Regions from separate parts of the Homo sapiens genome. Here region 2 is linked to region 1. Evidence: promoter capture Hi-C in human tissues and cell types (Jung and others, 2019). All regions are on one chromosome and are shown on one strand. The core of a region is centred on a gene start or on the middle of the fragment in contact, and the rest is flanking DNA. Distances in the headings are between cores, read along the strand shown. Region 1 holds the start of PDGFRB (platelet derived growth factor receptor beta). Region 2 has its middle 20 kb from the start of CSF1R.

What was found. The method cuts DNA at HindIII sites, captures the fragments that hold promoters and counts their contacts. A contact is called where the count stands out against the background at its distance.
Region 2: a contact is called between a fragment that was not itself captured here and the fragment with the promoter of PDGFRB in region 1, in 1 of the 25 tissues and cell types used here (pancreas).

The regions. Positions count from the first base shown.
Region 1 is chr5:150,153,104-150,158,184 of GRCh38, forward strand. It overlaps PDGFRB (platelet derived growth factor receptor beta), which reads right to left and starts at 2,742. Exons shown (of 23, transcript NM_002609.4): 1 at 2,294-2,742. RefSeq lists enhancers at 1-502, 4,660-5,081. The HindIII fragment of the contact is 14,571 bases long and covers 1-5,081 here.
Region 2 is chr5:150,104,209-150,108,829 of GRCh38, forward strand. It overlaps a transcript of CSF1R not described here. Among named protein-coding and RNA genes, the nearest start is that of CSF1R, 20 kb to the left of the region's middle. The HindIII fragment of the contact is 7,045 bases long and covers 1-4,621 here.

The sequences.
Region 1 (5,081 bases), core at 1,492-3,991:
ACACGGTGGATTTAAATCAAGCCAGGGCAAGCACTGGGTCTCCTGACTCTGGATCCACGGTGCTTTCCACTGCCTGCCCCACATGTGTGGGCAATTATAAGTCCCAGCTCTTCTTCCCGCAGAGGAGGGGGGCTGCTGATAACTGCTGTCTGGGAGGAGGGTGCTGACCAGATGGTCTCTTTCCTCTCTCAAGACCAAGCCAGGGCCCGGGCAGACCTTGGAGCAGTCAGACCTGAGGCTGCACTTTCTGCTGGGGAAGGTGCTGAAGCCAGGAGCAGGCTCTGCAGGAGGATGGAGATTCTTCCCTCTGACTGGGAGCTTCCCGGGGAGCACGAGGTAAGCCTTTAGAGTCAGGCAGACTTCAGCCTAAACACCACCTTAACTCACCGTATGGCCCTGGGAAAGTCACTTAGCCTCTCCAGATCTCAGCTTCCTCATCTACAAAAAGTAGGTAATAACACTGATTTCAAAAACTTGCCATGAGGACTCCAAGGTGTGTGAAGTACCAGGCTCTATGCCTGCATGAGGTAGGTGTTCAGGGACTGTATGTCCCTGAAGGCTGTGGATTCAGGGTCTCCTGCTTGGAGACAGGGGAGGACTGCATGACTTCAGAACTTGTCACTAGAGGCCTCTGTGCAATTGGGAGGTCACAGAGGGAAGCAGAGATACTCCTCCCTGCTTGCAATGGAGGAATGCTGCCTGGAGTAGCCACACGATGTCCTGGAAGGGCACCTGTGAGAAGGCTGGAGGCCTGGGTTCTAGTCTCACACTTGGGAGCAGAAGGTCTTCAGTGAGCTCCTCCTCCCTTTCACCAGGACATTTTTTCAGCCGCACTGCCTATCCAGGGCTGGGCACTGGGGGAAGAGCACAGGATGGGGAAACCTTAAACCTTTCCCCAGCAGAAAGTGCGGCCTCAGTTCTGACTGCTGGGGCCTGAACAATCTCTGATGAACAAACAGAACATAAACAGATCACCAACAGGGGAGGGCCAAGTAACATGGCTTCAGCACAAAGTGCATGGCTAGCACTTGGAAGACAGGAAGAACCTAGGAAGGCTGCCTGGAAGAGGTGGTGTATGGAATATCCCTGAAAGAAAAGTGATGAGGAAGGGCATTCCAGAAAGGGGGAAGAGGGAGGGCAAATGCCCACAAGCAGGATGGTGCGCATTCCTTCTGGGAATTCTGGGATCTGACTGGCGGGAACAAAAGGCCCAAGTTTGGAGTAATGGGGCACGGGGAGATTCCAACCTCTCCAGGCTGTGCCACTTACTAGCTGTGTGGCTACAGTTATGTGGCTGCGTGAGCCTCAAGTTCCTCATGTATAAAACGGAGGTAAAAACAGTCACTGCCTCTGGGGTTGCTGGTGAGCATTACATGAGATCAGTCTCATAAAGCACTCAGCACAGTTGCGGCGTGCAGTAAGTGTCAAGCAGTGGCAGCCTCTGTTAGGAGCTGGGACTTTCTCCAGGCACTGGGGAGCCATAGGCGGATCCTGGGCAGGGAGGTGGTGTGATTGGATTTATGCTTTAGAATGGCATGGAGAAGGGGTAGAGTCCAGAAGGAGGGAGACAACGAGGAGGCCTGAGCAGCTGCCTGGGACCAAAGGAAATGGCCCAGTGGCTGACCCCTTCTTCACAGAGGAGCCCCCAGATCTGACAGCCAGGTCCCAGCCCCCAGACCCAGCAGCATGACCGCTAGGGGGTTGCCATGGCCGCCCATCACCCTCGAACTTTCCTAGCCCTCAAACTTTTCTAGCTGCTGGGGGTTTAGAAGGATATCTTAAGAATCTAGAAAATTTGCAAATCCATTTAAATCCCCAGAGGTTGCCTGGCGGCTGACTGGCCTAAAGCCAGACTGATTCTTAGAAACAAGGCTTGGGCCAAGGAACAGCGGCTATGGTCCTGAGGTCCCCAGTCCCCTGCTTTCTGTGTACCCTGCCTACCTTCTCCCAATTCCCCTCTCCCGCTCTTCCCAGCTCTCCCCACTCCCCATTGACTGTGCTGTGCTTTGGAGGCCCCCAGTCAGCACCCAGAAACCCCTGAGGATTGTTTGATGAAGGCAGGAGCAGCAGGGATGATGAGGTGGAGGCCACTCACCCCAGAGCAGGGGAAAGGAGAAAACTGGCTCCTCCATCCCTGACATCACCCACAGTCTCCCAGCCTCCTCTCATCTTGTTTTGTTAAAAATATCTTCCCTTTTTTTTTTTTTTTTTTTTTTTACCTACTCGAAGAGATGCAGGTTAGGGCAAAGGGACAGGGCATGGGGCTGGGGTTCCCACTTTTTCCAGCACTTACCTTGCTGCTGATGGCTTCTGGTGTGGGCACAGTTCCAGGCTCTGGACAGTCACCCCCTCCAGGAAGTCCTCCTTACTGCCCTCTCCCAGTTATCAGAAAGACTGCTGGTCCCAGAGTGGGTAACAGCTGAGTAGAAGGACAGGCAGGACTGGTGCAGGCTCCTGAAGGCTCAGGAGAACAGAGGGATGGAGGAAGGGGGCTGCTGTAGGGGAGAGGAGCGGCCCAGCTTCGCCTCACTCCCCAAGCATCCTTCGGGAGGAGCAGAGCCGCCAGAGGGGCCGCCCTGGGTCTGGCTGTCTGCGTTGGGCAGGGCGAGCACAGGCTGCTGCTGGGCAGCAGGGCTGAGGGGCCGGCTCTCTCCTCCTCCTTGTTGATCTCCTCTCTGGCTCCAAGTTGCTCACAGAGCGATCCTGGGTCCCAGATAGGGCGGGCAGTCACTGCTGGCTGCTGGCAGCCTCAGGAGCTCACACCACTATGGGCTTCCATGCCCCCCCACTTCCCCCGCCACTTTGGGGGAAAGGCTGCAGGGTGGCTTCTGATTGGCCCAGCTGGGAGAAGGGGGGGCGGCGGGGCAGGGAGGGTGGACGCGTGCGTCTGTTTTCAATTTCAGTTTTTTTCCCCCTCTCTCTTTCTTTTCCCCCAAGTTTCTTGTTTTTCTTCTTTTCACTCTGCTTACTCCCTCCCATCGCCCGTTCGCTCAGGATGTGAGGGGATGCTTAGAAATTCCACAGCCCACGCCAGCCGCCAGCTGCTGAGTCACTTTTGTCAAAGAGTGGCCTCGGCCCCACTTTCCCGATGCCCATGTCGGGTGGCGGCCTCCCCTTGCCATGGCACCCAGGGAGATCATTTCTCAGTGCCTCAGTTTCCCCATCTGTAAAGGAGACTCTGATCATCTCTGTGGTTGATTCAGTCAACCTTCATTCATTGAACAAGCATACTGAGCATTTACTACATTCTAACACTGTACTGGGTGCAGGGGACAGTAGCAAGACGTGGTCCTGACCTCAGAAGCACCAGGCTAGTGAGCAAGATATTCATTGGGCAAGCAGGTGCCCGGTCGGCAGACAGGAGGCTGAGAGTGCATTTAGAAGGACCCCTAACGGAAGCCTGAGAGAATCAGAGAGCACTGCTGAGAAGAGGTGACATGGAGGAGATGGAAAGATCCTCCAAGATGATCAGCCGTTTTTCAGAAGGACAAACCAAGGCCCAGGGGTGAATTGGCACAGAGAGGGAATGTGATTTGGTCAAGGTCATCCAGCACAGATTGGATATCTCTGGATATTGACAGATACATTCCTTTTCACGTCTCAAAGCCCCTGGGGTGCAAGGAGAGGATTATTTGCCCCATTTTATAGATGGGGACACTGAGGCCCAGAGGAGCAAAATAAGCTTCCCAAGCTTACGCAGCAATGGCAGAGCTGGGGCAGAACTAGGTCTCATGAGACACATGATGGAAGAGACACAAGTCATCTGACCCCCACCCGAGACCCCTATTCCAGTGTAGATGAACCCCCTGCCCTGCTTTCTTCCTAGGTTCCCCCTGTGGCTCTTTCATTCAGTCACTCAACAAGATACTTTCTTTTTTTTTTTTTTTTTTTTTTTGAGATGGAGTCTTGCTCTGTCTCCCAGGCTGGAGTGCAATGGCGCAGTCTAGGCTCACTGCAACCTCCGCCTCCCAGGTTCAAGTGACTCTCCTGCCTCAGACTCCCAAGTAGCTGGGATTACAGGCGCACACCACCACACCTGGCTATTTTTGTATTTTTTGTAGAGACCGGGTTTCACTATGTTGGCCAGGCTGGTCTCAAACCCCTGACTTCATGATCCACCCACCTCAGCCTCCCAAAGTGCTGGGATTACAGGCTTGAGCCACCGCACCCAGCCTCAACAAGATACTTTCAAGTATCCGTTTTGTTCCATTTCCATTCTCTGGCTCTCCTTTCCTACCAGGGTCTGCCAAGACTCCTCCAGTTCCCCCAGCTGGGTCTCTTCTTCCACCCTCAGCTTCTCAGATCAGAAGACATCTCCAGTTACAGACTCCTAGCCCTCAGATGGCAAAGGGCATTATTTTAGAAGGGCATATAGAGTGGGCTTACCACCCCTGCTCCCACTACTGCACCCACAGGGCAACTGAATTCCAGAGGGTGAAGAAAGCTGTCCCAGGTGACACAGGTAGAGGCTGGCTCTGCCCTCCTTCCCTCTGCGCCGCTAAGTCTTTCCTCCTCAGCTTCCCCCAGACCCCTGTTCACAGAGCAGAGGATTTGCGTGAGCTGGGATTCCATGCCCACCACAGTCAACTATCTTGCATTTCTTGGTCTAGTCCCAATCGGGATTGCCCAGCAGAGCATCTGGGCTGGACCACATAGAAGGAGAAGTGTTCTCAGACTGGTTCCCAGCCACGGGTTGGGGACCATAAGAGTACCCCGAGAGAGGGGGCCTGGCCAGGTCTTTGTGGCAACAGGGAAATAGGGGAATGTGAAAAGATCCCACAGGCCACAAGGTCAGGCTTGCACAGGGATTTCTTGTGCCCAAAGATTCCGTCAGAAATTTACGACTCCCCTCCTAGCATCTGCCTGGGCCATTCACCTCTGAATCCTTGGCTGACCCTCTGCAGCCAGGCCAGCCTGGGGGAGGCCACGAGACACACCAACCCCCTAGTCCCCAAAGAAGCTAGTCTGGGAGTCAGAAGACCCAGCCACAGACTTATCAGGAGAACTTGAATAAGTCCCTTGCCCTGCCTGAGCCTCGGTTTCCCTATTTGTACATAACAGTTGTGGACTCACTGTGCTAC
Region 2 (4,621 bases), core at 54-2,553, 50 kb before region 1:
CCAGGCTGGCAGAGACCCCTCTCTGGTGGAACATGTTTAGGTGGAGGAGGGGTATAACCAGCAAGAGGGGTGGAGGCTACAGTAGTCCTGAGGGATGGCCTAGGCCACCTTGGCAGGACCTGTCTCTGTCCCCACGATCAAAGGATGCTGCTTGTCCTGTCATTTCTATCCATCCAGCTAATTCCTATAGCTCCTTCAGACTCGCTGCCTCCTGGAAGCCTCCCTGTTCCTGCCAGATGGGCAGGTATCCTTATTATGCATCCCAGGCCTTTTGGGCTCAACCGCATCCCAGCATTTTCCTTGCATGGCAGGCTTCAAAGGTTTATCAGGTGCTCACTATGTGAAAGGCAGCACGCCCAGTGCTCTTTGGAATTTTCTCATTGAATCCTCAACTCTAGAGGTAGGTGTGGTTATTATCCTTGTTTTACTGAAGAGCAAACCAAGGCTCAGAGAAGTTAAGTCACTTTCCCAAGATCACACAGCTGGTGAGGGCATTTCTGCCTCCTATGGTACAGGTATACCTGACCATTCTGATCCACTGATTTTAGATGTATGAAGAGTGAATGAATTAATGAATGAATGCTGTATGCCAAAGCCCCGTGAGTAGGAAGGTACTCTGTCCTCCTGGAAAAAATGGCATTTAGAGGCCTAATCCTTACTCTTTTGTTCATTTGTTCTTTTTTTTTTTGAGATGGAGTTTCATTCTGTCACCCAGGCTGGAGTGCAGTGGCGTGATCTCAGCTCACTGCAACCTCCACCTCCTGGGTTCAAGTGATTCTCTTGCCTCAGCCTCCTGAGTAGCTGGGACTATAGGCACCCACCACCACGCCCAGCTAATTTTTTAATATTTTTGACAGAGGCTGGGTGCAGTGGCTCACACCTATAATCCCAGCACTTTGGGAGGCCCAGGCAGGTGGATCACGAGATCAGGAGATGGAGACCAGCCTGGCTAACACAGTGAAACCCTGTCTCTCCTAAAAATACAAAACATCAGCCAGGCGTGGTGGCACGTGGCTGTAGTCCCAGCTGCTCAGGAGGCTGAGGCAGGAGAATCACTTGAACCCAGGAGGCGGAGGTTGCAGTGAGCCAACATTGTGCCACTGCACTCCAGCCTGGGTGACAGAGAGAGACTCTGTCTCAAAAAAAAAAAAAAAAATATATATATATATATATATATTTTTTTTTTTTTAATAGAGGCGGGGTTACCATGTTGGCGAGGCTGATCTCGAACTCCTGACCTCAAGTGATCTGCCCGTTTTGGCTTCCCAAAATGCTGGGGTTACAGGCGTGAGCCACTACACCTGGCCTCTTTTTTTTCTTTTTCCCTTTTTTTATAGGCAAGTCTCATTCTGTTGCCAGGCTAGAGTACAGTGTCAGAGTTACAGCTCACTGAAGCCTCAAACTCCTGGGCTCAAGCAATCCTCCTGCCTCAGCCTCCTGAGTAGTTAGGACTACAGGCACACACCGCCCACTTGACTAATTTTCTATTTCTTTTTGTTGAGACAGGGTCTCACTGTGTTGCTCCAGCTGGTCTCAAACTCCTCCTGGCATCAAGCGATCCTCCTGCCTTGGCTTCCCAAAGGGCTGAGATTACATGTGTGAGCCACCACACTGGACTCCCTAATATTTTCTGAGTGCTGTTTATGTGCCAGGCACCACAGCAGGCTCTTTCCATATTTATCTAATTTAGTGCTTTTAACACATGAGGCTGATTCTATTAATTACGCCATTTTGCCGATGAGGAAACCAAGGCTCAGAGAGGTTAGTTCACTTGCCCAAAGTCCCAGAGCCAGGGAATGACAGAGCTGAGACTGGAAGCAGGCAGCCTGGCTGCAGAGCCTACGCTAATGACCAGCACACTGCACAGGGCGATCCTGACCTCCCCCAGCAGTGGGTGTGCTGACCGCTAGTGGACACAGAGTGGGGAAGTGCCATGGGACTCAGTGGGGTAAGCCCTGACTGAGGAAGCCTTGGTGATGCTGCCGGGAAGGTGACAAACAAGAATCCCAGATTGACATTACCCCTTCCTGTGGCAGAGGAACTTTGAGAGGAGTTTGCATGACAGCCCAAGGATTAGGAAACTCTGAAGAAATGTGTGGGCCATGTCACACTTCACATACTGAGAGCCTAGTTTTCATCTCCCTGCCTGACTCCTGGACCCTGGAACCTCCAGACCCCAGGTCAAGGACAGCTTAGCCCCCACCCTCCTGCCCAGTTAACCCCAACTGCAGCCCATGCCCTGGGACCCAGGAGGTTCCCCACCAGAGAGTGGAGTGGGCCCAAGCTAGGAGCCAGGGACCCAGACAGAATAATGGCAATTTGGCAACTGGTTCCTCTTTGACCCTGGACCACAAAGGTTCGACCACACCTATCTCTAGGCCTGAGGATTGAGCTCTAGTGTCTGAATTGGAGTACTATGGGGTATTTGCTCCCATTACTATTGCAGCTCCATAGAGCAGATCAAGGCCATACCCTGTAGCAGGGCTTACAGGGGCCTTTGCAATCTGATCTCTGCCTCTTCTCTCTCCATCCACCCTCCCTGCTGTACTGAACACTTGCAGCTCCTGCATACACCCCCACACTCCTTCTTCCTGTTCCACATACTTCTGCTTCCACCTGGCCCATAAGCCTCCCTTTGCCTGACTGAGTCCCTGTCTTATAGTCTCTCGTGGCTCCCTGAGTTTCCTGGCACTTCTCGCTGTCAACAGAAGCACAGTTATGAGAGTGGTTATTGGTGTGATGTCATTCTGACCCCTTTGTTCTGCAGCAGGAGTTTCCTGGTAGGGCCAGTCTCCCTTCCGGTCTTCTTTATACCCTCTACACCTGGCCCTGCCTGGCAGATGAGTGCTCAGTCAATGCCAGATGCATGAAGAAATGTATAAACAATCCAATGAATGAATGAATAAATGAAGAGCAAGGAGAAGCTCTCCACCCTCCAAAAGCAATTTATTCAGCAAATGCTTCATGTGTCAGGCCTTGTTCTGGGCCCAGGAAGGCCAAGGCTCAGAGCACTTTCCTGCATGCAGGGACCTCACCGCCTGGTGGGAGGTAAGGCAAGTAGCTAAGTGGTGTTATACAGTGCAGCTGATAATATCTGACATCTATGGACATTAACATGATTTGTCATCCAATTTGGAACCTTTGAGACTGGAAGGGGTGCTATTAATAATTGCATTAACACAGGGGCATGAAGAAGGACTGTTCTGGTTGATCCATTGGGCACACTCTTCATGCCAGTCTCTGGACTGAGCTATTTGCACAGATCATCTCATTGATTCTCCCAGCCACCTTAGGGGAAAGCTGTAATTACTCCATGTTACAGATGAAGAAAGACAGGCTCAAAGATGGTAAGTAACCTGCCTGGAGTTAAACAGCTAAGTGGCAGAGCTGGGTTTTAAACCCTGGAACCCAGAGCCAGAGCCCACATGTTCAACCACTGTCTTTCATCAATGGCAGGGGCTCTCAGGAGGATCGAGGGTAAAGGGGAACAGCCTAGGCTTTGGAGCCAGATAGACCAGGAATTCATTCCCCACTCCTAACCACAGCCAGGTCCCCGGCCTTTCAAGGCCTTGTTTCTTCATTATGTAAAATGGGGAAGGGGCTATTGACTCAGATCCAGTGAGACAATAATGCAGGTGAAGGGCATGCAACAGATATTTCTCAATCACTGTCCCTGGCCCTGGGGACATGGTGGTGAACAGGTCAGCTGTGGTCCCTCCCTTCTGCAACTCACAGCCTATTGTCAGAGCCAGGAGAGGAACCAGGCCACTGGGGGAGTTGCAAGATGTCCTGGGATCACCGGAGAGAAGAGTCAAGGAAGGCCCTATCTGAGTTGAGAGGAAGTGAGAAGGGTGAGGAGTTGGGGGAGAGATACAGGGAGGAGGAAGGAATGTTCCAAGAAGGAGAAACAGCACAGTAAAGGCCTGGAGGCGTAAGAGTGCACAGGGTATGGGAGGCTAAGAATGCTGAACAGATGTGAGGGCCCATAAGAGGCACAGACAAAGGAATGCGAAGAGAAATCATTTTCAGCTGAAGAATGAGGAAAGCTTCTTGGAGAAAGTAGCTTTTGCTGGGCTGGAAGCTTGAGCAAGACTTTGACCTTCAGCTATAAAAGACTGGGCATTCTAGGTGGTGACGGTAGCACCAAAAAAAGGGGCAGAGGTCAGGAAGCTAGTGGCCCACACAAGGTGGATGGACCTTGGAGGGCAGATGTGGGAGAGGCAGTAGGAGAGGTTGGAATCAGATCAGGGAGGGCCTTAAAGATTCCATGAAGGAGTCTCGACTTTGCTGGGCCACGGGGAGCCACTGAAGATGTTTGAGCAAGGGAACACCAAGACCATCACTATGCTTCAGGAAGATCAAGAATGAAAAAGAAAAATTTTCAGATGTGGAAGCTTCCCTCTTGTCTCTTCAGAGGGGAAAAAAGGGACTTAGAATTCTGTGATTTTCCAGAAACTGTGTTACTTCCCCATGTTTGTGACTTTTCTAGTTCCTGCAGTGAAGACCCACAAAATCTAAAACCAGAGACTGTGGATCTGCAAAGGGGAGCTGGGCAAGGGCAGCCTGCTGTGAAGCCCTGCAGGAGAAGGCGAGGAGCCCTGAGCAGGTGGGGGGTGGGAGC